4 separate regions of the Homo sapiens genome follow, and regions 1, 3 and 4 are each linked to region 2. Evidence: promoter capture Hi-C in human tissues and cell types (Jung and others, 2019). All regions are on one chromosome and are shown on one strand. The core of a region is centred on a gene start or on the middle of the fragment in contact, and the rest is flanking DNA. Distances in the headings are between cores, read along the strand shown. Region 1 overlaps TOP6BL (TOP6B like initiator of meiotic double strand breaks). Region 2 holds the start of CCDC87 (coiled-coil domain containing 87). Region 3 overlaps TOP6BL (TOP6B like initiator of meiotic double strand breaks). Region 4 holds the start of BRMS1 (BRMS1 transcriptional repressor and anoikis regulator).

The links. The method cuts DNA at HindIII sites, captures the fragments that hold promoters and counts their contacts. A contact is called where the count stands out against the background at its distance.
Region 1: a fragment that was not itself captured here is called in contact with the fragment with the promoter of CCDC87 in region 2 in 1 of the 25 tissues and cell types used here (IMR-90 fibroblasts).
Region 3: a contact is called between a fragment that was not itself captured here and the fragment with the promoter of CCDC87 in region 2, in 1 of the 25 tissues and cell types used here (hippocampus).
Region 4: a fragment that was not itself captured here is called in contact with the fragment with the promoter of CCDC87 in region 2 in 2 of the 25 tissues and cell types used here (dorsolateral prefrontal cortex and pancreas).

Annotation. Positions count from the first base shown.
Region 1 is chr11:66,804,013-66,810,837 of GRCh38, reverse strand. TOP6BL (TOP6B like initiator of meiotic double strand breaks) reads right to left here. Exons shown (of 15, transcript NM_001302084.2): 7 at 6,648-6,825. Among named protein-coding and RNA genes, the nearest start is that of RCE1, 36 kb to the left of the region's middle. The HindIII fragment of the contact is 9,286 bases long and covers 1-6,825 here.
Region 2 is chr11:66,587,356-66,594,318 of GRCh38, reverse strand. CCDC87 (coiled-coil domain containing 87) reads left to right here and starts at 1,256. Exons shown (of 1, transcript NM_018219.3): 1 at 1,256-4,143. The coding sequence starts at 1,304. The coding sequence ends at 3,853. It overlaps CCS (copper chaperone for superoxide dismutase), which reads right to left and starts at 1,134. Exons shown (of 8, transcript NM_005125.2): 1 at 1,019-1,134; 2 at 605-677. The coding sequence starts at 1,057. RefSeq lists enhancers at 1,270-1,359, 1,390-1,499, 1,670-1,729, 1,292-1,880, 1,881-2,470. The HindIII fragment of the contact is 7,748 bases long and covers 1-3,071 here.
Region 3 is chr11:66,752,402-66,760,290 of GRCh38, reverse strand. TOP6BL (TOP6B like initiator of meiotic double strand breaks) reads right to left here. Exons shown (of 15, transcript NM_001302084.2): 2 at 1,195-1,248. The coding sequence starts at 1,219. Among named protein-coding and RNA genes, the nearest start is that of TOP6BL, 12 kb to the right of the region's middle. The HindIII fragment of the contact is 4,704 bases long and covers 2,981-7,684 here.
Region 4 is chr11:66,338,378-66,345,826 of GRCh38, reverse strand. It overlaps BRMS1 (BRMS1 transcriptional repressor and anoikis regulator), which reads left to right and starts at 723. Exons shown (of 10, transcript NM_015399.4): 1 at 723-855; 2 at 3,586-3,731; 3 at 4,204-4,294; 4 at 4,494-4,621; 5 at 4,781-4,860; 6 at 4,957-5,053; 7 at 5,614-5,706; 8 at 7,042-7,106. The coding sequence starts at 3,593. B4GAT1 (beta-1,4-glucuronyltransferase 1) reads left to right here. Exons shown (of 2, transcript NM_006876.3): 2 at 1-453. RefSeq lists enhancers at 548-977, 433-983. The HindIII fragment of the contact is 3,306 bases long and covers 808-4,113 here.

The sequences.
Region 1 (6,825 bases), core at 2,503-5,002, 210 kb before region 2:
GTGAAAGGAAAATTAAAACTCAAGACCCCAAATCACTATGCCAAAAGGAAATAATTTAGCTGAAAGCTGAGTCATGCAAGAAGCTGTCTCTCCTTTTGTTCCTAAGCAGATAGCTACAGATAAAGGGTTAAATACCTCTACAGGTAGCTACTGTAATGTTCACCTTCTATTATATAAAGGGCCACTTTACTGAGCACAAGACAAATACATAATTGACTGTTCCCCTACTTGCTCCTTTTCTCTTGTAACATATGGATTCAATAATGTGATCATCCCCTCCATCTTTCCTCTCCAGCCTGCGTTTCCCCTTTAAATACTGAAGACCTCAAAACCATCTTTAGAGAAAGGCACAGACCTGTCTCCCAGGAACATCCTTAACCTTGGCAAAATAAACTTCTAAACTGATTGAAACCTGTCTTGGATGCTTTTTGGTTTATATACTCAAGAAGGATATTTTGTGTTTTTAAAAGGACAAAAGTATTTTGTATCTACCCGCATAGCCACCACTTCCAGTGCTCTTCCTTTTTTGGGTAGATTCAGAATTCCGTCTGGCAACATTTTTCTTCTACCTAAAAGATTTCTGTTAACATTTCTTATAATACAGGTCTTCTGGTGATAAATTCTTTCACCTTTTCTATGTCTGAAAAATTCTTCATTTTGCCTTTTTTCTCTCAGTACTTTATAAAGATGTTACCCCACTTTCTTCTAGCTAACACTGTTTCCAGTGAGAAATCTGCCATAATTATTTTGTTCCTCTATACATAATGTGTCTTATCTCCAGCTGCTTTTAAGATTTTTTTATTACTGGCTTCAAATACTTTGATTATGATGTGACTTGGTATAATTTTCTTCATATTTCTTACACTTAGGGTTCATTGATCATGAATCTGCAGGTTTATAGTTTTCATTAAATTTGGAAACTCGGGGGTGAGACCCTGTCTCTACAAAAAATAAAAATAAAAAAATTAGCCAGGCATGATGGTGCATGCTTGTAGTCCCAGCTACTCAGGAGAGGCTGAGGTAGGAGGACTGCTTAACCCCAGAAGTTCGAGGTTGCAGTGAGCTATGATCGCACAACTGCACTTTAGCCTGGGCAACAGAGTGAGATCCCTTTAAAAAAAATAGTTATTTCTCTGAATTTACACTCACATATCTTCTATCTGATGCTAAAAACTTTGGTTCCTAACATTGTTAACATAATTATTTATCATAAGTATGCATACAATAATTCCAATATAAAATACCAATATTATTACTAACAATCATGCCACTGAATAAATTTTAAGAGGTCTTTGGACTTCCATTTCATCCTTAGAGTATATCCTGCTAAGAACGTATAGTCAAAACACCATGTTCTAAAGTCTGTTGAATTAATTCTTCTTGTTACGTGGATTATAATTTTAACATAATATACAGGTAAGTTTATTACCTTTTATGTTGAGGAATATTTGGATTGGATATGAAATTCTAGGTTGGTAATGATTTTATTTCAAGACATTAACACTATTAGTCTAACACCTTCTGTTGGTATGGGGAAGTCAACTGTTAATTTATCTTTTAAAGATGATTTGTCCTCCTGACTGATTTTAAGATTCTTCTCTGTTTTTCATCTCTTTAGGTGTAGAAATCTTTTTTATTTATACTGCTTGATTATTCTGTTCTTAAATCTGTCTCAGCCATCCTGGCTAACACGGTGAAACCCCGTCTCTACTAAAAATACAAAAAATTAGCCTGGCGTGGTGGCGGGTGCCTGTAGTCCCAGCTACTTGGGAGGCTGAGGCAGGAGAATGGCATGAACCCGGGAGGCGGAGCTTGCAGTGAGCCAGATCGAGCCACTGCACTCCAGCCTGGGCGACGGAGCGAGACTCCGTCACACACACGCACACACACACACAAATCTGTCTCAGTTGTTTCAGCCATTAACTCTTTAAATATTGTTTCTGCCCTATTTTCTCTTCTCTCTTCTCTTTTTGGACATCAATTAAATATACATTAGACAGTTTTACTCTTTACTCTGTTAACCCCTCTCTTCTGTATTTTCCATAACTTGTCTCTTTGTTTTATTTTTGCTAAGTTCTTGCTATCTTTAGCTTTTAGTTTACAAATTCACTTAAGTTGTACTTAATCTGCTGTTAAACCAGTGTACTGAATTTTATTCAACATTGGTTATTATATTTCTTGATTCTACAATTTCTGTTTTGTTCTTGTTAAAAGGTATTTCATATTTTACAGTTTCAGTTTTCTAGTAAAATTTTCAAACTTTGCTTTCATTTTCATCAACATAGTAAGCATAATTTTTCATTTTTTTTTTTTTGAAACTGGTCTCACGTCACCCAGGCTGAAGGGCAATGGCACGATCATGGCTCACTGCAGTCCTGACCTCCTGTGCTCAAGCAATCTTCCCACTTCAGCCTCCTGAGTAGGTGGCACCACAGGCATGCACCACACATGCACAGGTAACTTGTATAGAGATGGGGGTCTCACTGTGTTTCCCAGGCTGATCTCGAACTTGCAGGCTCAAGCAATCCTCCTGCCTCAGCCTCCCAAAGTGCTGAGATTATAGGTGTGAACCACCACACCCAGCTAAGCATAACTTTTTAAAGTCAATATCTGATATCACCAGTATCTGGAGTCCCAGTGGGTGTTTCTGTGATTTTGTTTTTGCTAGCTCTTGTTCATATTATCTTGTCCTTTCTTACACCTGGTTATTTGTGACTGTGCATGTGTGTGTGCATATGCACCATGGGACACTGTATTTGAAAAAGTGTTAAATAATTGGGAGCACAGGATGCAGTTATTTTCCTCTAGAAATTTTTGTTTGCTTCTATAAAACATCTAGAACTAACAAATCTAAAATCATCCTAATCCAATTTCAAAGTTCAAGATTTTCTGGCCTGCCTAGATGACCAAAAAGCATATACAGTCCATGTGAAGAGTAATTTATTTCAGGTTCACCTTACTCCTTAAAATATAGCCTTCTAGTTATCCCTTGCCCAAGGCAAGAGGTGTTTTTAGCAGCACTCCCAAGCTCAGCAGGTCCTGGATTCTTTGGCCTTCTTGTCCTGCACTGATTTGGAAGTATTAATACATCTTAGCCTCTCAACTGCTTGCTCTAATTGGCAAACTGCTCCAGGGCAAAAGCATCCCCCAATGCTAGGCTCAGCTCTCTGTAATTCAAACCTCTCCTAAATCATGGCACAGAAACTCTTCCTCTTCACTAGCTCTTTGATGCTTTTATGATTTTTTTGTTTGTTTGTTTGTTTTTTGAGATGGAGTCTCACTCTTGTTGCCCAGGCTGGAGTGCAATGGCGCGATCTCGGCTCACCGCAACCACCGCCTCCCAGGTTCAAGAGATTCTCCTGCCTCAGCCTCCTGAGTAGCTGGGATTACAGGCATGCACAACCATGCCTGGTTAATTTTGTATTTTTAATAGAGACAGGGTTTCTCCATGTTGGTCAGGCTGGTCTCGAACTCCTGACCTCAGGTGATCCATCCACCTTGGCCTCCCAAAGTGCTGGGATTACAGGCGTGAGCCACCACACCCGGCCTGCTTTTATGATGTTTTAATATTTCATCTAGCCTTTGCCTTCATTGAGAAGGTTGGTCTAAATTATCAAGTTTGCCACTTTCAGAAAGTAAAATCTCAACAGAATTTTCATAGCTAGCTCTCTCTCTTTTTTAAAACATCACCTCCTTAGAGGCTTCACTGCCCATATTTAAAATAACATCTCCATCATTCTCTACTACTTTGTTCTATTTATCTCCACTGCACTTATCACTACCTAATATCTATCTGTTAAATTTTCCCCAAGAGGACAAAAAATTTGTCTGTCTTATCCCTTCTAGATGATGGAATGAGGAAGAAGAAGAAACTTATTTATTCTATACTGTTCTGTACTATCTAGATATAAAGAAAAAGCATGTTTTAAAATAGAAAATGTCCAAGCATAGTCTTCATCACTATCCTGCTCCCTCCACCTCCCTAAAAGATACTATGGTATCTTTTGATATCTGATATGCAACATCAGATAGCTGACATCTATCATACCACGCCTCTTCTGTTCTCTCTTTTTTTTTATTTTGAGACAGAGTCTTGCTCTGTCGCCCAGGCTGGAATGCAGTGCTCACTGCAACCTCTGCCTCCTGGGTTCAAGTAATTCTCCTGTCTCAGTCTCCCGAGTAGCTGGGACTACAGTCATGTGCCACCATGTCCAGCTAATTTTTGTATTTTTAATAGAGACAGGGTTTTGCCATGTTGGCCATGCTGGTCTCAAACTCCTGACCTCAAGTGCTCCGCCAGCTTCGGCCTCCCAAAGTGCTGGGATTACAGGCATGAGCCACCGTGTCCGGCCTGTTCTCATTGTTTATAATTTTCTATAACTTCATTTACTCCTATAGCTTCAATCATATGACAATAACAATTATTAATATTATTGAGTACTCATTATATGCTAGGAGCTTCACATGGATTATTATACTTAATTCTAAAACGAGCAAACAAACCCCAAAAGAACAGAAAACCAATTTTTGCAAGGGAAACTAAACCTATGAGATAAGTATCATCCTCATTTTAAAGCAGAGGAAGTAAAGGCTTAGGCTGGTTAAGTGAGTTGCCTACAGTCACACAGCTAATTAGTAGTGAATCCAACATTTACACTCCTGTGCCATGCTCTAAACACAGCACTACACGACTCTTACCTATGGAGGAAACTGAGACTCTAAAATTCTGTATCTCTAAATCTGACCATTTCCAAGTTCCAGACCAAATTCCTATATAGCTCCTTACTATGTTCAAAGGATGTCTTGAGACACCATAAACTCAACATGTTTAATGTCAAACTCATCTTCTTTATCTCCTAAATCTGCTATTAATGTTTTTTTATCTTGCTGAAAGTATCATTATTCTGTCAGTTATTCATGGAAATATTTTTAAATAGCTTTATTGAGATACAATTCACATACCATACAATTCACTCATTTTAAATGTGTAATAAAATGGATTTTAGAATATTCAAAGAGTTGTGCAGTCACTACCACCATCAATTTTAGAACACTTTCATTACTCTGAAAAGAAGCCCCTCCAGGCCGAGCACAGTGGCTTATGCCTGTAATCCCAAAACTTTGGGAGGCCGAGCCTGGTGGATCGCTTGAGTCCAGGAGTTTGAGACCAGCCTGGGCAACATGGTGAAACTCTGTCTCTACCAAAAATGCAAAAATTAACTGGGCATGGTGGCATGCACCTGTGGTCTCTAGGAGGCTGAGGTGGGAGGATGGTTTGAGTCCGGGAAGCAGAGGTTGCAGTGAGCTGAGATTGTGTCACCGCACTCTGGCCTGTGCAACAGAGCCAGACCTTGTCTCCAAAAAAAAAAACAAAAAAGCCCCTCCATCAACTTTCTCTCTGTATTTGCCTATTCTAGACAGACATAGAATAGAAATCTGACATCAACCTTAGACATTCCCTGCCCCTAATCTCTCCCTACCTTAATAATGAACTGGTTACCACATTTTGTTGATTAATTCAGGTGATAAGTCTGGCCTTTCCGTGCCTACCACACTTTAGATTCAAGCACTCATTATTATTGTTATTTTATTTTTATTTTTTCTGAGGCAGAGTCTTGCTCTGTCACCGAGGCTAGAGTGCAGTGTCGTGTTCTTGGCTCACTGCAGCCTCCACCTCCCAGGTTCAAGTGATTCTCCTGCCTCAGCCTCCCAAGTAGATGGGACTATAGGCGTACACCACCACGCCTGGCTTTAATTAATTTATTTTTTTGAGACGGAATCTCACTCTGTTGCCCACGCTGGAGTGCAGTGGCTGCGATCTCGGCTCACTGCAACCTTTGCCTCCCAGGTTCAAGTGATTATCCTGCCTCAGCCTCCTGAGTAGCTGGGATTACAGGCGCCTGCCACCATGCCCAGCTAATTTTTGTATTTACTAAGATGGGGTTTCACCATGTTGGCCAGGCTGGTCTCCAAGTCCTGACCTTGTGATCCATCCGCCTCAGCCTCCCAAAGTGCTGGGATTACAGGTGTGAGCCACCACGCCCGGCCTAATTTTTGTATTTTTAGTAGACAGGGTTTCACCATATTGGCCAGGCTGGTCTCAAACCCCTGACCTCAAGTGATCCGCCCACCTCGGCCTGCCAAAGTGCTGGGATTACAGGTGTAAGCCACTGCACCCAGCCGTCAAGCACTCATTATTTTTAATCCAGTTCACTTACTTATTTACTTAGTATTACTAACTTCTGTCTCCCATCCGTACTCTATAATGCTGCTAAAGACTTCTCCCAAAACATTCAATGGTTTCTTACTATACAGAGAATAAAATTCACAATCCTTAGTATGGCACTCAAGATCTACCATATTCAACTCCAGACTACTTTTCTAGTCCCATCTCTTCCTCGTGCACCATTCATTTCATGCTTCAGTCATATTGGATTGTATGAAAAACGCATGGCATGTGTCACATTTTACAGTTTTCAGTTCCCTGGCAAAATTTTCAAGCTTGGCTTTCACATTAGATTATATGTTTTTATACAAATCATATATATTTGTAGATGCAGAATTCACATACTAAAGGCTTTCCTAAAACTGGGATATAAAAACCCATTTCAAAGATAATTGGATGGAACTTTTCATCAAAAGGATATGGAAACTGAAGAAATCCTGTTAAGCTGGTTGGAAGAAACCTTTGGGCTGGGGCACAGTGCAGCTGCTGGAGTCAGTATCAGTTCTCCCAACAAGTCCATGCCAGCCACGTCTTCAGGGATGAAAAGCATTACTGGATGTCCTAGCACAGGGTGAATTCTGCTGCAGTGTGATTCAATT
Region 2 (6,963 bases), core at 7-2,506:
GGCGCGATCTCGGCTAACTGCAAGCTCCGCCTCCCGGGTTCACGCCATTCTCCTGCCTCTGCCTCCCAAGTAGCTGGGACTACAGGCGCCCACCACCACGCCCGGCTAATTTTTTGTATTTTTTAGTAGAGACAGGATTTAACTGTGTTAGCCAGGATGGTCTCGATCTCCTGACCTGGTGATCCACCCACCTCGGCCTCCCAAAGTGCTGGGATTACAGGCATGAGCCACCACACCCAGTGGTATAGAAAGCTACCCAGGATGGTATAGGGCCTGAGCTGCTGTTTGCTTTGTCAAGATTATGTTGTTTCCCAAGCAAAAACTGCCTGTTTTCCCAGGAACTCCCTCAGCCTAGCTCCTCAGTCTCTGGGGCACCTGAGGTTCAGGACAACAAGACAGGCAGTTAGAATCTGTCAGGGCAAGCTGGACAGCTGTACTCTAGGCTCTGCCTCCAGGTCTGTGTGTAACTCTGAGAACATGCCTTTCACTCTCTGGGGTTCACTTTCTGCATCTGTAAAATGGGAGTAGGGTTCGCCTAATAGATTCGCCTGGTCCCTCCCAGAGGCTTCTGGACTGTCTGCAGAAAAGTTTACCCTGTTCTTACCTGCCACCCCTTGCAGGGATTTGCGCACCGCGTCCACACAGCTCTGACAGGTCATCTGCACCGCGAACTCCAACTGCAAGGGCGGCAGGGACCAACCGATGATCGCTGGGGAAGTGCCTTGGTATGACTTTGTTTCACCACCTACCCTATGACCACCGCAAGGGTCTGGGAACAAGCCCCACTTAACCCCTCTTCAAGCACCTTCTTCATGATCTCTCATGACCATTCCAGGACCATGGGAGTCACCCCCCAACACTCACGCAGGGCCCCTGCTACCCTCGCACCCTAGTTTCATCCCATGGCCCCAGGCCCCAACCCAAGTGCCCACTCCTTCTCCTCTTCCCAAGGTAACGATCATCCCAGGGGCCGAGGCTCTCTGCCCGGCGAGGCTCCACACGAAGCCTCGACCCTCACCGTGCAGAGGGTCCCCTGGTTCCCCGAATCCGAAGCCATTCTGGACCCAGTCACCACCCCGAGACGCAGAACTCCTCCGGCGCAGGAGCACCAACCAGCGCGGCGTCGCGGGGACTGAGCCTCTAAAGCCACCCTTAACTCCTCCTCCTAGTGCGTGCGCACGCAAGGCCCTGCTTCGTCAGCCACCGGGTGGCGGCCGCGCAGGCGCACTCGGGCCGTCGGGCTCCTGGTTGCCTTAGTAACCCCTCGGCTTTCTGTTCCTGGACGGTGGCGGCCGCCGGCTCTATGATGGAGCCCCCGAAGCCCGAGCCTGAGCTCCAGCGGTTTTACCACCGGCTGCTGCGTCCGCTGTCGCTCTTCCCCACTAGGACGACGTCCCCAGAGCCTCAGAAGCGCCCCCCGCAGGAGGGCCGGATTCTGCAGTCCTTCCCTCTGGCGAAGCTGACGGTGGCGTCGCTGTGCAGCCAGGTGGCCAAGCTGCTGGCCGGCAGCGGGATAGCAGCGGGAGTGCCTCCTGAGGCCCGACTACGTCTCATCAAGGTCATCCTGGACGAGCTGAAGTGCAGCTGGCGGGAGCCGCCCGCCGAACTTAGTCTGAGCCACAAAAACAACCAGAAGCTGCGGAAGCGGCTCGAGGCCTACGTGCTGCTGAGCAGCGAGCAGCTCTTCTTGCGCTACCTGCACCTGCTGGTGACCATGTCGACTCCCAGGGGGGTCTTCACTGAATCAGCCACCCTCACCCGGTTGGCCGCCAGCCTCGCCAGGGACTGCACACTCTTCCTTACTAGTCCCAACGTCTACCGTGGCCTGCTTGCCGACTTCCAGGCCCTGCTGAGGGCAGAGCAGGCCTCTGGGGATGTGGACAAGCTGCACCCTGTCTGCCCCGCTGGGACGTTCAAGCTGTGCCCTATCCCCTGGCCTCACAGCACTGGCTTCGCCCAAGTGCAGTGCTCTAACCTCAACCTGAACTACCTCATCCAACTCAGCCGTCCACCAGAGTTTCTCAATGAGCCAGGAAGGATGGATCCAGTGAAGGAATTGAAGTCCATCCCTCGGTTGAAGAGGAAAAAGCCTTTCCACTGGCTGCCCTCCATAGGAAAGAAGAGAGAAATCGACATCAGTTCCTCACAGATGGTGTCGCTGCCCAGCTATCCTGTGGCCCCCACCAGCAGGGCTTCCCCCTCGCCTTTCTGCCCTGAGCTCCGGAGAGGCCAATCCATGCCCTCCCTGCGTGAGGGCTGGAGGCTGGCAGATGAGTTGGGCCTTCCTCCACTCCCATCTCGCCCCTTAACCCCGCTGGTCTTGGCTACAGAGAGCAAACCAGAGCTGACTGGGCTCATCGTGGCTGAGGATCTGAAGCAGTTGATAAAGAAGATGAAGTTGGAGGGGACTCGCTACCCACCACTGGACTCAGGCCTGCCTCCTCTCCTGGGGGTTGTGACCCGTCACCCAGCTGCAGGGCATCGCCTGGAGGAGCTGGAGAAGATGTTGAGGAACCTCCAGGAGGAAGAAGCCTCTGGGCAGTGGGACCCCCAGCCCCCCAAATCCTTTCCACTTCACCCACAGCCAGTGACCATTACTTTGAAGCTTAGAAATGAGGTCGTGGTCCAGGCGGCTGCCGTACGGGTCTCTGATAGAAACTTCTTAGACTCTTTCCACATTGAGGGGGCCGGAGCCCTGTATAACCATCTGGCTGGTGAACTGGATCCCAAAGCCATTGAAAAAATGGATATTGATAACTTTGTTGGCAGTACTACCAGGGAGGTCTACAAGGAGTTGATGAGCCATGTCTCTTCTGACCACTTACATTTTGATCAAGGGCCCCTAGTTGAGCCTGCAGCAGATAAAGACTGGTCGACCTTCCTGTCCTCAGCCTTTCTACGTCAAGAAAAACAGCCTCAAATCATCAACCCTGAGCTGGTTGGACTTTACTCCCAGAGAGCAAACACTTTACAGTCCAATACTAAGAAGATGCCCTCCCTCCCATCACTCCAAGCTACCAAAAGCTGGGAGAAGTGGTCAAACAAGGCCTCCTTGATGAACTCATGGAAAACCACCTTGTCTGTGGATGACTACTTCAAGTACCTCACCAACCATGAAACAGATTTCCTTCATGTCATCTTTCAAATGCATGAAGAAGAGGTTCCTGTGGAGATTGTGGCCCCTGCCAGAGAGTCCCTAGAGATTCAGCACCCTCCCCCATTGCTAGAAGATGAAGAACCAGACTTTGTGCCAGGAGAGTGGGATTGGAACACTGTGCTAGAGCACAGGCTAGGAGCTGGGAAGACACCCCACCTGGGAGAACCCCACAAAATTCTGAGCCTGCAGAAGCATCTGGAACAACTGTGGTCTGTGCTTGAGGTCCCTGACAAGGACCAGGTGGACATGACCATTAAATATAGCTCCAAAGCCCGCCTGAGGCAGCTGCCTTCATTGGTGAATGCCTGGGAGCGGGCCCTGAAGCCCATTCAGCTGCGGGAGGCATTGCTGGCGAGACTAGAGTGGTTTGAGGGACAAGCTTCCAATCCCAACCGCTTCTTCAAAAAGACCAACTTGAGCTCCAGTCACTTCCTGGAGGAGAATCAGGTCCGAAGCCATCTCCACAGGAAGCTCAACTTAATGGAGTCTTCTTTGGTTTCCCTCCTGGAGGAGATAGAGTTAATCTTTGGCGAGCCAGTGATCTTCAAGGGGCGGCCCTACCTGGACAAGATGAAGAGTGACAAAGTGGAGATGCTCTATTGGCTGCAACAGCAGCGGCGGGTTCGCCACCTGGTCTCGGCCCTGAAGGATCCCCACCAGTCAACCCTGTTCAGGAGCTCAGCAGCCAGCCTTTAGTAGCTCCTGGGAATACCCCTATTACTCCTTGACCAGGCCCAGTGCCCTCAAATGCCTCCCTCACCCCTAAATGGCCAGCAGCTCATCTAGACCTCTTTACTGCTTTGGAAGAAGAAATATTTGTCTATATCTGGGAGTGGAGGGTTCAGGAACATTATGCTTCCAACTATGAAGGGATTGAGACTAAAACTATTGTTTTCTTAGTGAAATTCTCATGAAAGAATCCCCAAGCCTAGTAGTCCCATTATGTCAAGCCTTGCACAATACAAGCCAAATCTCCTATATCAAAAGAACTGAGACCTTGGAGTTAATTGTAGTGGGAAGGGTCAGAGGCAAAGGTGATCTTTGGAACAACTCACTTTAGCATTCCTATCACACTACATTAAATTGTCACCTCTTTTAGTTCTCAAACACTATTAGGAAGAAGAAAATTAATTAAATTTTTACCAGTTACGTGCACATGGTACAAAGTATACCAGGATGTGTACTGAAAAGTAAGCCTTCCCATACCCACCTCCAATGTCTGTTTCGTGCTGTGGGGATAAGTGTTACAATTTTTAAATTTAATTTAATTTTTATTTATGTATTTATTTATTTTTTGAGACAGAGTCTCACTCTGTTGCCCAGGCTAGAATGCAGTGGTACAATCTCAGCTCACTGCAACCTCTGCCTCCCTGGTTCAAGCGATTCTCCTGCCTCGGCCTCCTGAGTAGCTGGGATTACAGGCGCCTGCCACCACGCATGGCTCATTTTTGTATTTTTAGTAGAGATAGGGTTTCACCACGTTGGCCAGGCTGGTCTCAAACTCCTGAGCTCAGGCGATCCACCTGCCTCAACCTCCAAAAGTGCTGGGATTACAGGTATGAGCTACAGCACCTGGATTTTTTTTTTTTTTTCAATTTTAGAGATGGGGTCTTGCTCTGTTGCCCAAGCTGGAGTGCAGTGGCCTGATCATAGCTCACTGCAGCTTGAACTCTTGGGCTCAAGCAATCCTCCTGCCTCAGCCTCCTAAGTAGCTGGGACTACAGCTGCTCACCACTGCACCTGGCTAATTTTTTGAGTTTCTTAAAAAAAAAACAAATATATATATATACACACACACATACACACACATATATATGTGTGTGTGTATATATATATGTGTGTATATATATATATTTTTTCTTTTGAGAGGGAGTCTCGCTCTGTCGCCCAGGCTGGAGTACAGTGGCGCAATCTCGGCTCACTGCAAGTTCCGCCTCCTGGGTTCATGCCATTCTCCTGCCTCAGCCTCCTGAATAGCTGGGACTACAGGTGCCCACCATCACGGTCAGCTAATTTTTTTTTATTTTTAGTAGAGACGGGGTTTCACTTTGTTTTTTAATTTATTTTTTTATTGATAATTCTTGGGTGTTTCTCACAGAGGGGGATTTGGCAGGGTCATGGGACAACAGTGGAGGGAAGGTCAGCAGATAAACAAGTGAACAAAGGTCTCTGGTTTTCCTAGGCAGAGGACCCTGCGGCCTTCCGCAGTGTTTGTGTCCCTGATTACTTGAGATTAGGGATTGGTGATGACTCTTAACGAGCATGCTGCCTTCAAGCATCTGTTTAACAAAGCACATCTTGCACCGCCCTTAATCCATTTAACCCTGAGTGGACACAGCACATGTTTCAGAGAGCACAGGGTTGGGGGTAAGGTCACAGATCAACAGGATCCCAAGGCAGAAGAATTTTTCTTAGTGCAGAACAAAATGAAAAGTCTCCCATGTCTACTTCTTTCTACACAGACACGGCAACCATCCGATTTCTCAATCTTTTCCCCACCTTTCCCGCCTTTCTATTCCACAAAGCTGCCATTGTCATCCTGGCCCGTTCTCAATGAGCTGTTGGGTACACCTCCCAGACGGGGTGGTGGCCGGGCAGAGGGGCTCCTCACTTCCCAGTAGGGGCGGCCGGGCAGAGGCGCCCCTCACCTCCCGGATGGCGCGGCTGGCTGGGCGGGGGGCTGACCCCCCACCTCCCTCCCGGACGGGGCGGCTGGCCGGGCAGAGGGGCTCCTCACTTCCCAGTAGGGGCGGCCGGGCAGAGGCGCCCCTCACCTCCCGGACGGGGCGGCTGGCCGGGCGGGGGGCTGACCCCCCCACCTCCCTCCCGGACGGGGTGGCTGGCCGGGCGGGGGGCTGACCACCCCACCTCCCTCCCGGACTGGGCGGCTGGCAGGGCGGGGGGCTGACCCCCCCACCTCCCTCCCGGACTGGGCGGCTGGCCGGGCGGGGGGCTGACCCCCCCACCTCCCTCCCAGACGGGGCGACTGGCCGGGCAGAGGGGCTCCTCACTTCCCAGTAGGGGCGGCCGGGCAGAGGCACCCCCTCACCTCCCGGATGGGGCGGCTGGCCGGGCGGGGGGCTGACCCCCCCACCTCCCTCCCAGATGGGGTGGCTGGCCGGGCTGAGGGGCTCCTCACTTCCCAGTAGGGGCGGCCGGGCAGAGGTGCCCCTCACCTCCCGGACGGGGCGGCTGGCCGGGCGGGGGGCTGACCCCCCCACCTCCCTCCCGGACGGGGCGGCTGGCCGGGCGGGGGGCTGACCCCCCACCTCCCTCCCGGACGGGGTGGCTGCCGGGCGGAGGGGCTCCTCACTTCCCAGATGGGGTGGCTGCCGGGCGGAGAGGCTCCTCACTTCTCAGACGGGGCAGCTGCCGGGCGGAGGGGCTCCTCACTTCTCAGACGGGGTGGTTGCCAGGCAGAGGGTCTCCTCACTTCTCAGACGGGGTGGCCGGGCAGAGACGCTCCTCACCTCCCAGACGGGGTCGCGGCCGGGCAGAGGTGCTCCTCACATCCCAGATGGGGCCGCGGGGCAGAGGCACTCCCCACATCTCAGACGATGGGCGGCCGGGCAGAGACGCTCCTCACTTCCTAGATGTGATGGCGGCTGGGAAGAGGCGCTCCTCACTTCCTAGATGGGATGGCGGCTGGGAAGAGGCGCTCCTCACTTTCCAGACTGGGCAGCCAGGCAGAGGGGCTCCTCACATCCCAGACGATGGGCGGCCAGGCAGAGACACTCCTCACTTCCCAGACGGGGTGGCGGCCGGGCAGAGGCTGCAATCTCGGCACTTTAGGAGGCCAAGGCAGG
Region 3 (7,889 bases), core at 4,083-6,582, 160 kb before region 2:
TGTATTTTTAGTAGAGATGGGGATTCACCATGTTGACCAGTCTTGAACTCCTGACCTAGGTAATCTGCCTGCCTTGGCCTCCCAAAGTGCTGGGATTACAGGCATGAGCCACTGGGCCTGGCTACAGTATATTTTCTTAAAGCAAGGACAGATATAAGCTTTTAAAAATCTATTAATATTCCAGATTTAGTCTGGGAAAGTTTATTTTTAAAAGTTATTTTGTAAAATTTGTAAATTAACAATTCATTAGGAAAAAATAGGCCAATGGATAATACTTATGTAGCAAACAACCATAAGAAATAAAAATGAAAGCGTAAGAGTTCTAAGGTCATTTTGGCTTCCTTAAAATAAATGTTATGGCCTTTGGCTTGTAGAGTATTCTTAAGTCCAAAAAAATAAAAAGAAATTCTGCCAGGCATGGTGGCTCACACCTGTAATCCAGCATTTTGGGAGGCCGAGGCAGGCAGATTGCCTGAGCTCAGAAGTTCGAGACCAGCATGGCAACACGGTGAAACCCCATCTCTACTAAGATACAAAAAATTAGCTGGGTGTGGCAGCATGCAACTGTAGTCCCAGCTACTCGGAAGGCTGAGGCAGGAGAATTGCTTGAACCCAGGAGGCAGAGGTTGCAGTGAGCCAAGATCGCACCACTGCACTCCAGCCTGGGTGACAGAGTGAGACTCCGTCTCAATAAATAAATAAATAAATTCTTAAAACTAAGGTCAGCAAAAACTCCTAAACCGTACCAACTCTGGCATATAATGTGGAAAACATTATTACTGCTAGCCAATCATTTACAGTAAAAGCATTCTCCACACATTATTTCTTTGAAGTAGATAGAAACAAATACCTACTAAAATTTTTATTTTACATCTGGGAAAATTTTGCCTAAAGTTGTATACAGAGTATACAGAAAAGCTACAGTGATCTAGGTATCTTGTCAATTCTATACAGTTTTATATTAATAGATCATCTTTTAATCAGAAGCCAGATAAAATGTAGGATAAAGTACTGCATGAGACATACTTATGTTAAAAAAATTATTATTTATCTGAAATTCAAATTTAAGTGGGCATCCTGTATTTTTATTTATAAATCTGTCAGCTCTTTCTTTCATTATAAATTTGTTTCAGAAAATATCAAATTAATTGTCGGGAAGATATTCAGTCTCATGGAAGTTAGGTAATTCTTTACCTTTTAGGAACTTCTTGAGGACCATGCCACCAAAAAGGCTTCCTGCAGAAGCAACTGTAAGAAACAGAATACAAAGAAATATCACAAATAAGTAAATGCATTCTATTGAAAGAATCAAATGAGAGTCTAAAAAACTGCTTACAGACACAGAACATTTAAAAAGTGACCACTACTAATGAGTTTGGTAAAAATGGAAACATCAAAGAAATACTATAATGGTACAATGACTGTTTTGAGGAAAAATAACTTCTTAGAGATAACCGAATAGCAAGTATTTTCACCTATATTCAACATCCACCCACAATCAACACCAGGACTGCCTCTTTGGATGATACTCTACTTGACAGAAAAAGATTATGTGAAGACTGCAAATTGCAGCTAGTAATCAGAATATATCGTGTCAATAACTCATATCCTAATATACGAGTCAATTCAAACTTTGGCTCTTCTTCTAACCAATTTTACCCTTAAATAGAAAATACCGGCCGGGTGCGGTGGCTCACGCCTGCAATCCCAGCACTTTGGGAAGCCGAGGTGGGCGGATCACAAGGTCAGGAGCTCGAGACCATCCTGGCTAACACGGTGAAACCCCGTCTCTACTAAAAAAAATACAAAAAATTATCCAGGCGTGGTGGCGGGTGCCTGCAGTCCCAGCTACTCAGGAGGCTGAGGCAGGGGAATGGCGTGAACCCAGGAGGCGGAGCTTGCAGTGAGCTGAGATTGCGCCACTGCACTCCAGCCTGGGCGACAGAGCGAGACTCCGTCTCAAAAAAAAAAAAAAAAAAAAAAAAAAAGAAAAAGAAAATACCAGTATCAGGTAAGAATTCTCTTACCTAGAGTTCTAACTATAAATATTAGAAATTTTAGAGCAATAATTATTCAGGGTAGACAGTGAATAAGGAAGCAGGCACCAACGAGGGGACAAAAAGATCAGAACTACCTAGAGGCTTTTTATTTTCAAATTGAATATGCCCTTCCCCAGAGAAACATGACCTCATAGTTCAGAATCTAAGAATCATTGCCATAGGAACCAATAGAAATATATCTATCCCTCAGAAAATGTGCATCTTTCAGACAGGGAAATAAGGTTGAGAATCACGGAACTAGAGTGAGAGGCAACATCATTCTGTAAACTGCTGTTCAGTACAGCAGCCAGAAACTACATGTGGCTATTTACATTTAGCTAAATTAAATTAGAAATTTAGTTCCAGCCGGGTATGGTGGCTCACGCCTGTAATCCCAGCACTTTGAGAAGCTGAGGTGGGTGGATCACCTGAGGTCAGGAGTTCGAGACCAGCCTGGCCAACATGGTGAAATCCCATCTCTACTAAAAATAACAAAAATTAGCTGAGCGTGGTGGCAGGCGCCTGTAATCCCAGCTACTTGGGAGACTGAGGCAGGAGAATCACCTGAACCCAGGAGGCAGAGGTTGCAGTAAGCCGAGATTGCACCATTGCACTCTAGCCTGGGCAACAAGAGCGAAACTCTGTCTCAAAAAAAAAATTTTAGTTCCTCAGTCACATTAGCCACATTTCAAGCACTCCATAGTCACATGTGGCGAATGACTAGTCTGCTAAACAGGAGACAGAGAACATTTCCATCATCACAAAGAAGTTTTATTGGATAGTAATACTCTAGATTTCCAGATTTTAAGTGATTCTGGATAAATGATACACACTTCCAAAGGCCTAAGCCCAAGCAGCACAGAACATTTAACAACAGATAGTCTTTTTCATTATTATTTTATTTTATTTTTCACTGAGACAGAGTCTGTCGCCCAGGCTGGAGTGAAGTGGCACAATCTCAGCTCACTGCAACCTCCACATCCCAGGTTCATGCAATTCTCCTGCCTCAGCCTCCTGGGTAGCTGGGATTATAGACATACGCCACCGCGCCCGACTAATTTTTGTATTTTTAGTAGAGACGAAGTTTCACTATGTTGGGCGGGCTGGTCTCGAACTCCTGACCTCAAGCAATCCACCCGCCTCAGCCTCCCAAAGTGCTGGGATTACAGGTATGAGCCACAGTGCCTGCACCCGCCCCCACCCCCCACCGCCGCCTCCGCCCTTTATAAAGACCATCTTATGGCCAGGCATGGTGGTTCACACCTGTAATCCCAGCACTTTGGGAGGCTGAGGTGGGTAGATATTTTGAGCTCAGGAATTCAAGACCAGCCTGGGTAATATCACAAAACCCCATCTCCACAAAAAATACAAAAATTAGCAGGTCATGATGGCACACACCTGTAGTCCAGCTATTCAGGAGGCTGAGGTGGGAAGATCAGCTGAGCCCAGGAAACAGAGGTTGTAGTGAGCCGTGATGGCACCACTGCACTCCACCCTTGGCAACACAGAGCAAGACCCCATCTCAGAAAAAAATTTTGTTTACATTGTTTTAAAAAGATAATCTTCTGTTCTATAGAGGGGATTTGGGGGAATGCTTGCTTTAAAATATGTATTTTACAGATAAGTCTCTACTGTCATCTTTGCATCTGGAGGATAGAATTTTATCGTTTTTATATAAAAGCATTGGAAATATAACTGAAAATTGAGGGCTGGATAGGATGTGGAGCAGGTGGAAGCACTCCTCACCCATAATTAGCCAGGCATGGTGGTGGGCATCTGTAATCCCAGCTACTCGGGGGACTGAGGCATGAGAATCACTTGAACCTGGGAGGTGGAGGTTGCAGTGAGCCGAGACTGCGCCACTGCACTCCGGCCTGGGTAACAGAGTGAGACTCCATCCTGAGAAAAAAAAAAGGGGGGAAAAGGGGGTTAACTGTATGTAGCATTTCCCAAACAGTATGTTTCATAGTCCACACTGGCACATGAGAGGTCCTGAACAGACCTATAGTTTAAAAACTTATTTTAACTAACATTTCCCAAATTTAAATGACTACATAACTCCTTTCTTATAACTCATATAAATATTCTGTGGCATACATTTTGGGAAACATCATGAAAATCATATTTGTTAAAGCCTTCAATAATTACTGATGGAAAAAACTAATTATCTCTTGGCTTCTGATAGATGAATCATCTCAGATATCAAATTTGCTAGTCTGTTGTGGGTTGAACTATGTCCCCCAAAAGATAGTTTTAAGTACTAGCCCCAGTGTATATGACCTTATTTGGAAATAGATGCCAGCAAGTTAAGACAAGGTCATACTGGATTAGGGTGTTCCTGAGTCCATTGACTGGTGTACTTATAAGAAGGCCATGTGAAGAAAGAGAGAAATACAGAGGAGAATGCCATGTGAAGGCAGGGAGTGATACACCTACAATCTAAGAAATACCAAGGATTGTCAGCAATCACCAGAAGCTAGGAGAGAGGCATGGAACAGATTTCTGAGTCTCCAGAGCAAACCAACCATACCAAGACCTTGATTTTGGACTTCTAGCCTCCAGAACTGTGAGAAAATAAATATATTTTGTTTCAAGCCATCCAGTTTGTGGTACTTTGTTACAGCAGCCCTAGAGAGCAGAGATTTCAAACCAAATTTAAAAGATACCACTGCACACTTCCAGGTAAAGACAGCCGATTGAACACACACGTTTATTTTCATTCCCTCCTGAAACCTCAATAAAATAATAGAAAAGAGATTTATAAGGGCACAAACCCACAAGGATGGAAAACAAGAGACAAACATGATTGTAATAAAAATCTAGACACTACAGGCTAGGCACAGTGGCTCATGCCTGTAATCCCAGCACTTTGGGAGACCAAGGCAGGTGGATCACCTGAGGTTAGGAGTTCGACACCAGCCTGGCCAACATAGTGAAACCCCGTTTCTACTAAAAATACAAAAATTAGCCAGGCATGGTGGCACACACCTGTAGGCCCAGCTACTCAGGAGGCTGAGGCAGGAGAACCTCTTGAACCCAGGAGGCGGAGGTTGAAGTGAGCTGATATCACACCACTGCACCTCCAGCCTGGGCAACAGAGTGAGACTCTATATCAAAAAAAAAAAAAAAATCTAGAAACTACAAAGCAGAACGACTAGTAGGAAAGGATTTAGGAGACCTGAGTAATCTAAGTATAAGGGGACAGGGAAGGCCAAGAAACAACCTGATTTATATAATAAAATTGCAAAACACTCAGGCATGGCAGTATCAGGAACCTCTGAATGTATGGGTGAGGTAGAAGATAAATTAAGGAGAGTCTGTTGAAAAATGAATTTAAATAAATCTTTAGATTCCCTCCTCCACTCAGCATTCAAGGGACTGGCTCCTCCCTAACTTTGGTGTGGATTGGGGAGAAGATACTTGAAAATGGTCAAGGTGTCAATCTTTGGGACGAGAATCAAAATTGTACTAAAAACAAGTGGAGTTAGTGAACAGAACCCCTGAATGCTGAGATACCCAATACCCCCTTTTCTCTCTCATTCCCAGAATCAAGTCTGGCTTTTACCCACTTGGTAAGAGACTGAAAGATCTGGTCATTCCAAGAGCAAAGACCTAAAGATATTGATATTGAAGAGAAGAGAAAGTTCCCCAGTTAAAAGCCCAATTAGATCACCTTTTAGTGATGCTAAAATTTCAAATCAGCTTTATAGTCTCTAACTCTTAAAAATGAGCAACCAGTAATTTTAAGATATTTGAAGAAAGCTTCTAACATGAAAACAGACACCAGACTAAGAAAAGCAATACAAGGGAAACAAGAACGAGGTGGAGAAAAGAAAACTTTAAAAAAATCTTTATATACTCAAAAAGATAATGCCTAGAAAGTAGAAGAGATAAAAATTATGAGAGAAACGATTTTAAAAAGGAAAAAGAACCAGTCTAGGAAGTCTAATATCTAAATAATAGAAGTTGCAGAAAGGGGGGAAAGAAAAGAGAGAATGCAAGGGAAAATCTCCCAGAACCAAAGAACAAGGGTTTCCAGGTTTAAAAGTCTTGCTGAGTGCTGAGCACAATGTTTGAAAACACACCCACACCCAGGTGCATCATTGTGACAATGGAGACCACAGCAGAGACTGCTGGTGCTCGCAAACAAATACCCCATTCTCCTTCTTCCTGAACACATAATCTGACTACGTTTTTCAGTCTTCCTTGCAACTGCAGGGCTGTGGCAATAAGACTAAGTCCTGGTTGGCCAGGCGTGGTGGCTCATGCCTGTAATCCCAGCACTTTGGGAGGCTGAGCTGGGCGTATCACCTGATGTCAGGAGTTCGAGACCAGCCTAGCCAACATGGTGAAACTCTGTCTCTACTAAAAATATAAAAATTAGCTGGGTGTGGTGGCAGACACCTGTAATCCCAGCTACTGAGGAGGCTGAGGCAGGAGAATCACTTGAACCTGGGAGGTGGAGGTTGCAGTGAGCCGAGATCATGCCACTGCATTCCAGCCTGGGCAACAGAATGAGACTCTGTCTTAAAAAACATAAAAACATGGCCGGGCGCGGTGGCTCACGCCTGTAATGCCAGCACTTTGGGAGGCCAAGGCAGGTGGATCACGAGGTCAGGAGATAGAGACCATCCTGGCTAACACGGTGAAAACCCGTCTCTACTAAAAATACAAAAAATTAGCCGGGCGTGGTGGCAGGCACCTATAGTCCCAGCTACTCGGGAGGCTGAGGCAGGAGAATGGCGTGAACCCAGGGGGTGGAGCTTGCAGTGAGCAGAGATCATGCCACTGCACTCCAGCCTGGGTGACAGAGTGAGACTCTGTCTCAAAAAAAAAAAAAAAAAAGACTAAGTCCTGGCCAATAGAACGTGAGCAGCAGTAACATACCAATTCCCGAGCCTACCCCATAAAAGTCTTCCATTTATAAGCTCTGCTCTCTTTCCCCATCCTTAGCTGGAGAGAACTTAGAGGACTTAGAGAAGGATACACCCGCAAGACAGAGATAGCATAAAACAAAATACTTGCCTGCTTGCCTGCATACACACACATTCATCTGACTGTGAAATACAAGAAAACTAAACATTTTATGTGTTAAGCCACTGATATATATATATTTTTTTTTGGAGACGGAGTCTCACTCTGTCACCCAGGCTGGAATGCAGTGGTGTGATCTTGGCTCACTGCAACCTCCGCCTCCCAGGTTCAAGCAATTCTCCTGCCTCAGCCTCTGGAGTAGCTAGGACTACAGCCGCATACTGCCACACCTGGCTAATTTTTTGTATTTTAGTAGAGATGGGGTTTCACCGTGTCGCCCAGGCTGGTCTCAAACTCCTGAGCTCAGGCAATCCGCTGGCCTCACCCTCCCAAAGTGCTAGCATTATAGGCGTGAGCCACCGCGCCTGGCCAAGCCACTGAGATTTTAGGGTTTGTTATAGCACCTACCCTTATTTACTGTAATTAATACAAGGATAAAGAGAAGATTCTAAAAGCTTACAGAGAGGCCGGGAACGGTGGCTCATGCTTGTAATCGCAGCACTTTGGGAGGCTGAGGTGGGTGGATCGCTTGAGGTCAGGAGTTCGAGACCAGCCGAGCCAACATGATGAAACCCTATCTCTATGAAAAATACAAAAATTAGCCAGGCATGGTGGTGTAACGCCTGTAATCCCAGCTACTCAGGAGGCTGAGGCAGGAGAATCACTTGAACCCGGGAGGCGGAGGTTGCAGTAAGTCGAGATCATGCCACTACACTCCACCCTGGGTGACAGAGTGAAACTCCATCTCAAAAAAATAAAAATGAAAGCTTACACAGAGGGGAAGAAAAAAGAAAAAACAGGTCACATACAGAGTAA
Region 4 (7,449 bases), core at 1,211-3,710, 250 kb after region 2:
CTGTAAAAAGGGAGGTGAGAATACCTACCTCACGGAACTGTTGGGAGGCTCAGATGAGATGCTATATGTGAAAACATTCTGTAAGCTTCGTACAAATGTGAAGTATTAATATTATCGCAGTATTATTGTTGTTATTATTATTGTTATTATTAACAATCTTGGGTGGGTAGTAGGAGAGCAAAAAGTATGAATGGGATGGAGCTAAGAAGTCTGAATACTTAATGAAATGGACTTTTTGGAAAGAAATCAGATGAAGGCATAAAATTTAGTTCTTAGCTCTTGAACAGAAGCCTAAAATTCCTGGTTCTCTCAGGGCTTCGCCTTCAAGGGTTCTGGAGGAGGGAAGGGTCTGCAGGTTCCATGGGTGACAGCCTGAGATCTGTCCCTTCAACGGGCTGGGCTGGGTATGTGCCTACCGATGACAATGTGTAAATAAATGCGTGTTCACACCCACAGCTGGCTCCGTTACTCTCCTGAGCTGGGGGTGGGGGGATCGGGGCCGGCTTCTCCCCTTGCACGCCGTGGGGAGATGGCCGCGGACGAAGGGCACCGTCTGCAAAGCACTGAACCATCAGGGCCTTCCCTGCAGGCCGAAGGCCTGCGCGAATGTCGGCCAGTTACTATGGAGACCGGCCCGCGGTATCCCAGCATGCCTCGGGACCAAACTGTCCAACTGTGAGCATCCCCGACGGTCGCCTCCTGATGACGCACACGGAAGCACCGATAGGCTCTGCCTCCCGAAGAAAAGGGAGCCGCGCAGCGCCTACGGGAGTCCGGCGGCAGCAGCCGGTACCGGCAACCACGGGCAGCTCTCAGGGAATCTCCGTCGTGAGGCCAGAGGCTCCAGTCCCCGCGGTGCGTATCGTCATGCATGGCTTTTGGTTCGCCCTCTCCGGTTAGTCGAGCAGGGCCGGCACAACCTCCTCCTCCGAGGCCGAAGCAGAGATTTAACCGGCCTGACGCGTGCTGGGCTGCGGGCGAGCCAGTGATATTCCGGCCCGCTCCGGCGCATCTAGAAGGGAGCGGGAGGCCCCCTGGGCGCTGCGGAGAAGCTGGATTGACCTCTGCGAGAGTGGGGAGGGTCTGCCTTCCCTAGGGGCCTGCCCCGGAGGAGCTGCCATTCTGAAAAGATAAATTGCCTGTGTACAGCGCTTTACAGTGTGCTTTTCCATCCCTTACCACCTGTGAGCTCCTCAACACTCAGAGCAGGAATGGTTATCCGCTTTTTGCACCCGGGGTAAGGTGGGAAGGTTGTGACTTAACTCACTCATAATCAGAACCAGGGGGAGGAAAGAAAGGCTTCTGGAAGAGATAGACTTAAGCTGCATCTTACAAAGTGAATATACTAACAGTGAAGAGGCATTGCAAATGTTGGGAACTGAGGCTTGATAACGGGAAGATGAAGCTGGTTTAGAGAACCGAGCCTTTCAAGTCAGGTGCAGGTCATTAGTGAAATTGTTGAGGAATATGACTAAACACTCACCTAGGCCAGGCTTACTATACACAACTTGAACTGGTGTCAAGGAAAGCTTGCTACCATTACAGGGACCTGGGACTACCGAAAAGTAAAAACTAATGTCTGTCTCACAAAAAATTTTTTTGTTAAATTTGTATTTGCAAATCCTCCAGTCATCAAGTGAACCAGCACTGTGCTAGGTAAATAAGTTACATGTGCAGCCCCTGCCCTAGTGAGGCTCATAGACTGATTGCGGGGACAGATATGAGAACAGGCAAATAGATATAAACAAAGCTTCCTGGAGGGAGTGGTGTCTGCACTGTTCTAAAGGACTACAAAGCAGTGTCCAGAGAAGTTGGAAGAACACAATAAAATAGAAGCCTGCAGGAGGTTGAGAGATTATCTGCTGAGAGGACTGTTTTCTTCTTCTTAGGTGATCTCTTGGCAGTACTTGGCACTATCAGTGCAATTACTCCTTGGCAGTACTTGGCTTTCTTCTAAAACTCTTTCTCCACCACTTCGGGTTTTGCCTCCTCCTTTGTAGGGGTCTCCTCATCTGCCCCTTTGGTGACCCTGGGCGTCTTCTGATCGCACACATTGTGCCTTGCTGGTTGCACCTTCTCCTGTGGCATGAAGAACTTGCTGTATGCTGACGACCAAATCCCTGCAGCTCAGATTTCTCACTGAGACTTAGACCCATGTTCCCCCAGCTGCTTTCCTTCTCTTATTTCTGGGTCTTTGCTACTGACTCTACCTGGAATGTTCCCTCAATAAGTGCAGCTCACCCAGCTGGTCCATCTTTGTCTGGAAGCCTCCCTGCTGCATCGGGCTCCAGGTCCTGGTTATATACCCCTCCCTTATGCCCCTGGTCTTAACTCTCCTCCTATCATGGTTATAGTGTGCTCCTTTGCCCCTGTCTCCCAGGAACTTGTAAACTCCGTGAGGTCAAAGACATTCACACTTGGGCGCCTGCATACCATAGCGTCTGACGGTACCTAGCATATGTTAGATGTTCAATACATGTTAGATGAGTCAGTAAAAGAAGGAATGCTTACCAGTGTTGGATGTTGCCGAGCAGACAATTAAAATAAGCACTGAAAAATATTGGCATTAGCCACAAGGAAGTCATTGGTTAATGCTACGGGATCAGTTTCAGCTGAGATTGAGGACATCGAACAAGTGGGAGGTGAAAGTAGGAACAGCCAGTGTTCATGAGACCTTGAAAAGTGTAACTGTGAAGTGGCAAATGGAGCAGTTAGGTGGAATGGGTGAGGTTTTGTGTTTCTGTGTTTTGTTAATGCTAGGAAGTACCCAAGCACATCCAAAGTTTCATGGGAAGGAGGTTGCTAAGAGTTAGAAGCTGAAGACACAGAAAAGAGAGGGGAGCACTGATGACCTGCGGTCCAAGAGGAAGCAGAAGGAGATGGGATTTGACCCAGAGCACAATGAAAGACAAGGAGATTGTAACATTATCTGGAAGAGAAGCCGAGGACATTATAGGCAGAAGGAACAGCTGAGGCAGAGGGTGGATAGTGGAAGTGCAAGCACTAGCCATTATATGTTGGGATGAAGGAGCTGGACCGGTAGGTCAAGTCCAGTCTGGGAAAGACCTTGAAAGCCCCAGTTAGAAATTTAGGTCCAGTTTGGGTGTGGTGCGGGCGCCTGTAATCTCACTACTCAGGAGGCTGAGGCAGGAGAATCGCTTGAACCCAGGAGGAGGAGGTTGCAGTGAGCTGAGATCGTGCCACTGCACTCCAGCTTGTCAACAGAGCGAGACTCTGTCTCAAAAAATAATAAGAAGAAAAGAAATTTAGGTCCAGTTGCAAAGGCAGTGGAGAGTGCCCCCTGGGCCTTTCCTTTCTGTGGATCACAGCCTTGGCCAGTATTGCTAGGATTAGGATCACCAGTGACATCCAAGAGCAGGAGCAGTTCCACAGCTCCCAGCCTTCTGTGAGAGGTGCAGATGGCCATTTGCACCCTTGTCACCCAGTTTGTGCTCAAGGTGTGGCCAGGCCAGTTACTTCCCTGGCTTTCCCCATCTGGGATCGAGTTGTGTTCAGCATCCTGCTGCCTCTTTCCCCCTCTGAGCTGTGGGCAGCCATAAGTGATAGCTCCATTCCTTCTCCCAGAGTCCAGATGCCTGTCCAGCCTCCAAGCAAAGACACAGAAGAGATGGAAGCAGAGGGTGATTCTGCTGCTGAGATGAATGGGGAGGAGGAAGAGAGTGAGGAGGAGCGGAGCGGCAGCCAGACAGAGTCAGAAGAGGAGAGCTCCGGTGAGCCCCTACACACACAGACACACACACACACACACAGAGCCCCTACACACACACATGCACACACACAGCCCCTACACACAAGCATGCACGCACATGCACATACAGCGCCTACACACAAGCACATACACAGACCCTGCACACAAGCGCACACACGCACACACAGCCCCTACACACAAGCACGCACACACAGCCCCTACACACAAGCACGTATGCACACACACAGCCCCTTCACACAAGTACACGTGCACACAGCCCCTTCACACAAGCACGCACGCATATGCACACACAGCCCCTACACACAAGCACACACGCACACACACAGCCCCTTCACACAAGCATGTACGCGCACACACACACAGGCCCTACACACAGGCATGCATGCACACACACACATGCAGGACGCACATGCACACATGCGGGTACCCACCACTCCTCCCCAGAGCTAGCCCTTACTGGCCTCTTGTCCCAGAGATGGATGATGAGGACTATGAGCGACGCCGCAGCGAGTGTGTCAGTGAGATGCTGGACCTAGAGAAGCAGTTCTCGGAGCTAAAGGAGAAGTGAGCGTGGGGACACCTTGGGCTGGGTCTGCGAGGATCTGGGATGAGGAGGTGGTGGGCCTGGTACTGGGCAGGCGTGGTTGGTGCCCAGGAAGTGCGCGCCTAACACCGGGCTTGCTGTGGAATGGGTGCTGGGTATGTGTTTGCCCAAGAGCGATGGGTGAGCAAATGGGTGCACGGCTGCCTTTTTACCACGCAGGTTGTTCAGGGAACGACTGAGTCAGCTGCGGTTGCGGCTGGAGGAAGTGGGGGCTGAGAGAGCCCCTGAATACACGGAGCCCCTTGGGGGGCTGCAGCGGAGCCTCAAGATTCGCATTCAGGTGGCAGGTCTGTGGGTGGTTCTGTACCCTCTTCCCCTCCCAGAACCCGTGGCACCCTGTCCCCTTCCTCTCTCGTTCCTGCCCGGCCTTGCCCTTTGCTCTCAGCCCTCCTATGTGGGCACCGGGCTCCCCAGCCAAGCAGGGACCCTCCTCCCTTTCTCTGCAGGGATCTACAAGGGCTTCTGTCTGGATGTGATCAGGAATAAGTACGAATGTGAGCTGCAGGGAGCCAAACAGCACCTGGAGGTGGGCCTGATTGGGCACACTGGGGGTGAGGCAGGGCACAAAGCCTGAAGTGGCCTCACCCCATCCGTCCTGCTGAGCTATTGCCCCCTCTTCCAGAGTGAGAAGCTGCTGCTCTATGACACGCTGCAGGGGGAGCTGCAGGAGCGGATCCAGAGGCTGGAGGAGGACCGCCAGAGCCTGGACCTCAGCTCTGGTAAGCGCGAGAGCCTGGGCACCCCGGAACTGGGCCCCGCTCAGTCCACGCCCACCCCTCTTTGGGCTTCAGATGTCCTGAAGTCAAGGGGACAGCCAGAGGACCTGCCTGTTGGGGTCAGTGTGAGGGCTGAAGGAGACCAGGCCTGGAAAGGGCCTGGCACATAATGGGGGCTCAAGCAGAGTGGGTCTCCCTGCCTCTTCTGCCCCTGCTCTTTCCAAAACAGGTATCAGTGTGACATGCAGTCACATGCAATAGCTCTAGTCCCCTCCATGTTCATAGTACCTGTGTTCACGTGGAGTCCTGGGGTGGCAGGAATTGTCGTCATCCCACTCTCCACTAAACAGATGAGGCTCACAGAAGTGCAGTGACCTCTTCCCAGGGTTGTGCAGCTGTGCAGGCAGGACCTGAACAGCCCTAAGGGGCTTCTACCCCAAGCCCAGGGTGGTGATGGGACAGGGGAGATGAGGCCAGGCCGGCCCATGGTGGAGGCAGAGGCTACAGAAAAGGGAGTATCCTGTGGGCCAGCACCCCAATTCTAACTCTGGGTCTCGGGGCAGAATGGTGGGATGACAAACTGCACGCCAGAGGCAGCTCCAGGTCTTGGGACTCCCTGCCGCCCAGCAAGAGGAAGAAGGCACCTCTGGTTTCTGGTATCCTTTCACCCAAGGTGGCCTAAAAGTGGGCAGGATGTAAGGGTCAACTCCAGACCCAGGGGAGGGGGTTGGAGGGGACATGGAGGACAGTCACACTAGATGCACTCGTGGTTGCTTGGTGTCATGTGAATATGTCCAGGCAAATCCAGCTGTCAGCAGTTTCTTACGGGGTCCTGGGTCTCTCTGGGCTATGTGAACCCTAGGAAAACAGAAACGGGCTGGGCTCCGTGGCTCACATCTACAGTCCCAGCACTTTGGGAGGCCAAGGCGGGTAGATTGCTCGGGCCCAGGAGTTCTTTTCGAGACCAGCTTGGGCAACATGGTGAAACCCATCTCTAGAAAAAATAACAAAAATTAGCCAGGCGTGGTGGTGTGCACCTATAGTCCCAGCTACTCTGAAGGCTGAGGTAAGAGGATTGCTTGAGCCTGAGAGATCAAGGCTGCAGTGAGCCGTGATGGTGCCACTGCACTTGAGCCTGAGTGAGGTTTGGCCTTTGAGGCCTTTCCATCTCCCGGGGTTGTCCGAGCGGGTCCCCAGCTTTCCCTGGGGAGCCTTTGCTCATATCCCACCCTCCTCTTGGAAGTCCTGCCTGTCCCGACTGTCCAGGGCTCATCTCAAACGTTACCTCCTCTGTGAGGCCTCTTCTGGTCTTACCCTGGTGCCTATGGCTTCACTTTCCTGTGTGCTTCTGTGCCCTACCATGGGGTACCCACATCCCAGAGGGCACTGGCTGCCTCCACCCCTTCCTAGGCAGGGCTAGCTTAAGCTTAGTCCAGGGCCTGCTGTGCTTTCATCTGTCCTGGCAGAGCTGAGTCCTCCTGCACCCCTGAGGGTATTCCTGCAGCAGCCAGTCTTAGTCATTATGGCAACCTGGTGCTGGAGAGCAGGCCCAGGCAGGGAGGGAGGAATCTGGAAGGCCATGACTTGAGTGAATGGAAGGTGAAGGCATGGAGACATCAAGTAGGGAGCACTGGGGGAGGGAGAGTTGTCTCTGAAGGGATAAGCCCTGCGTCTGTCTTTGGATCAGGGAAGGGGCCAGGTTAGGGCCAGTGCTGCAGAGTGAGATGGGATGGGCCTCAGCCAGCTGACCTAAGACGAGGTGAGGGTGAGCAAGGGACAGGGAACAACATTTGGTGTCCTCCATAGACTTGGTTCCAGGACGACCCCTGGAACCAGGGGGTTAAGAGGTAGGAGGTGGAACCTGACCTCGGACCCAGGTCCTCAGCTCCCACTCCATGCTGTCCGCTGTACCCCCACTCCTGAATGTCAGGTGGGTGGCCCTGCCCTCGTCACCTGCCACCTCCACTAGGCTTCCTTGACCCCCACCACAGGCCCATACATCGTGTACATGCTTCAAGAGATCGACATCCTGGAGGACTGGACAGCCATCAAAAAGGTGGGGGCCGCTGCTGCCCACGTGACCTGCCCCACCTCAGGGCCCCCCACCCTGGCAGCAGCTCTGCCATCTGCAGGCCTGGGAGTTCTCTGCTCACCAAGGCTTCCCCATCTTCAGCCCAGAGTCCCTGGATCGCAGTTGGCTCACAAGTCCTCTTGCTCAAGGCGGCCCTGGGAAAAGGGATTTCTAGTCTGTGTCAGCCCCTTCCCGTTCTGGGGCAGGTTTTGATGGGGTGGGAGGGTGGCGGGGAGGCGGGAGAGCCGCTGAGCTGGCCAGCAGTCAGGAGCATGGGAGCTCTGCCTGGGTGGGGCCTATGCTCCCGGTCCTGGGGGCACAGCACTGA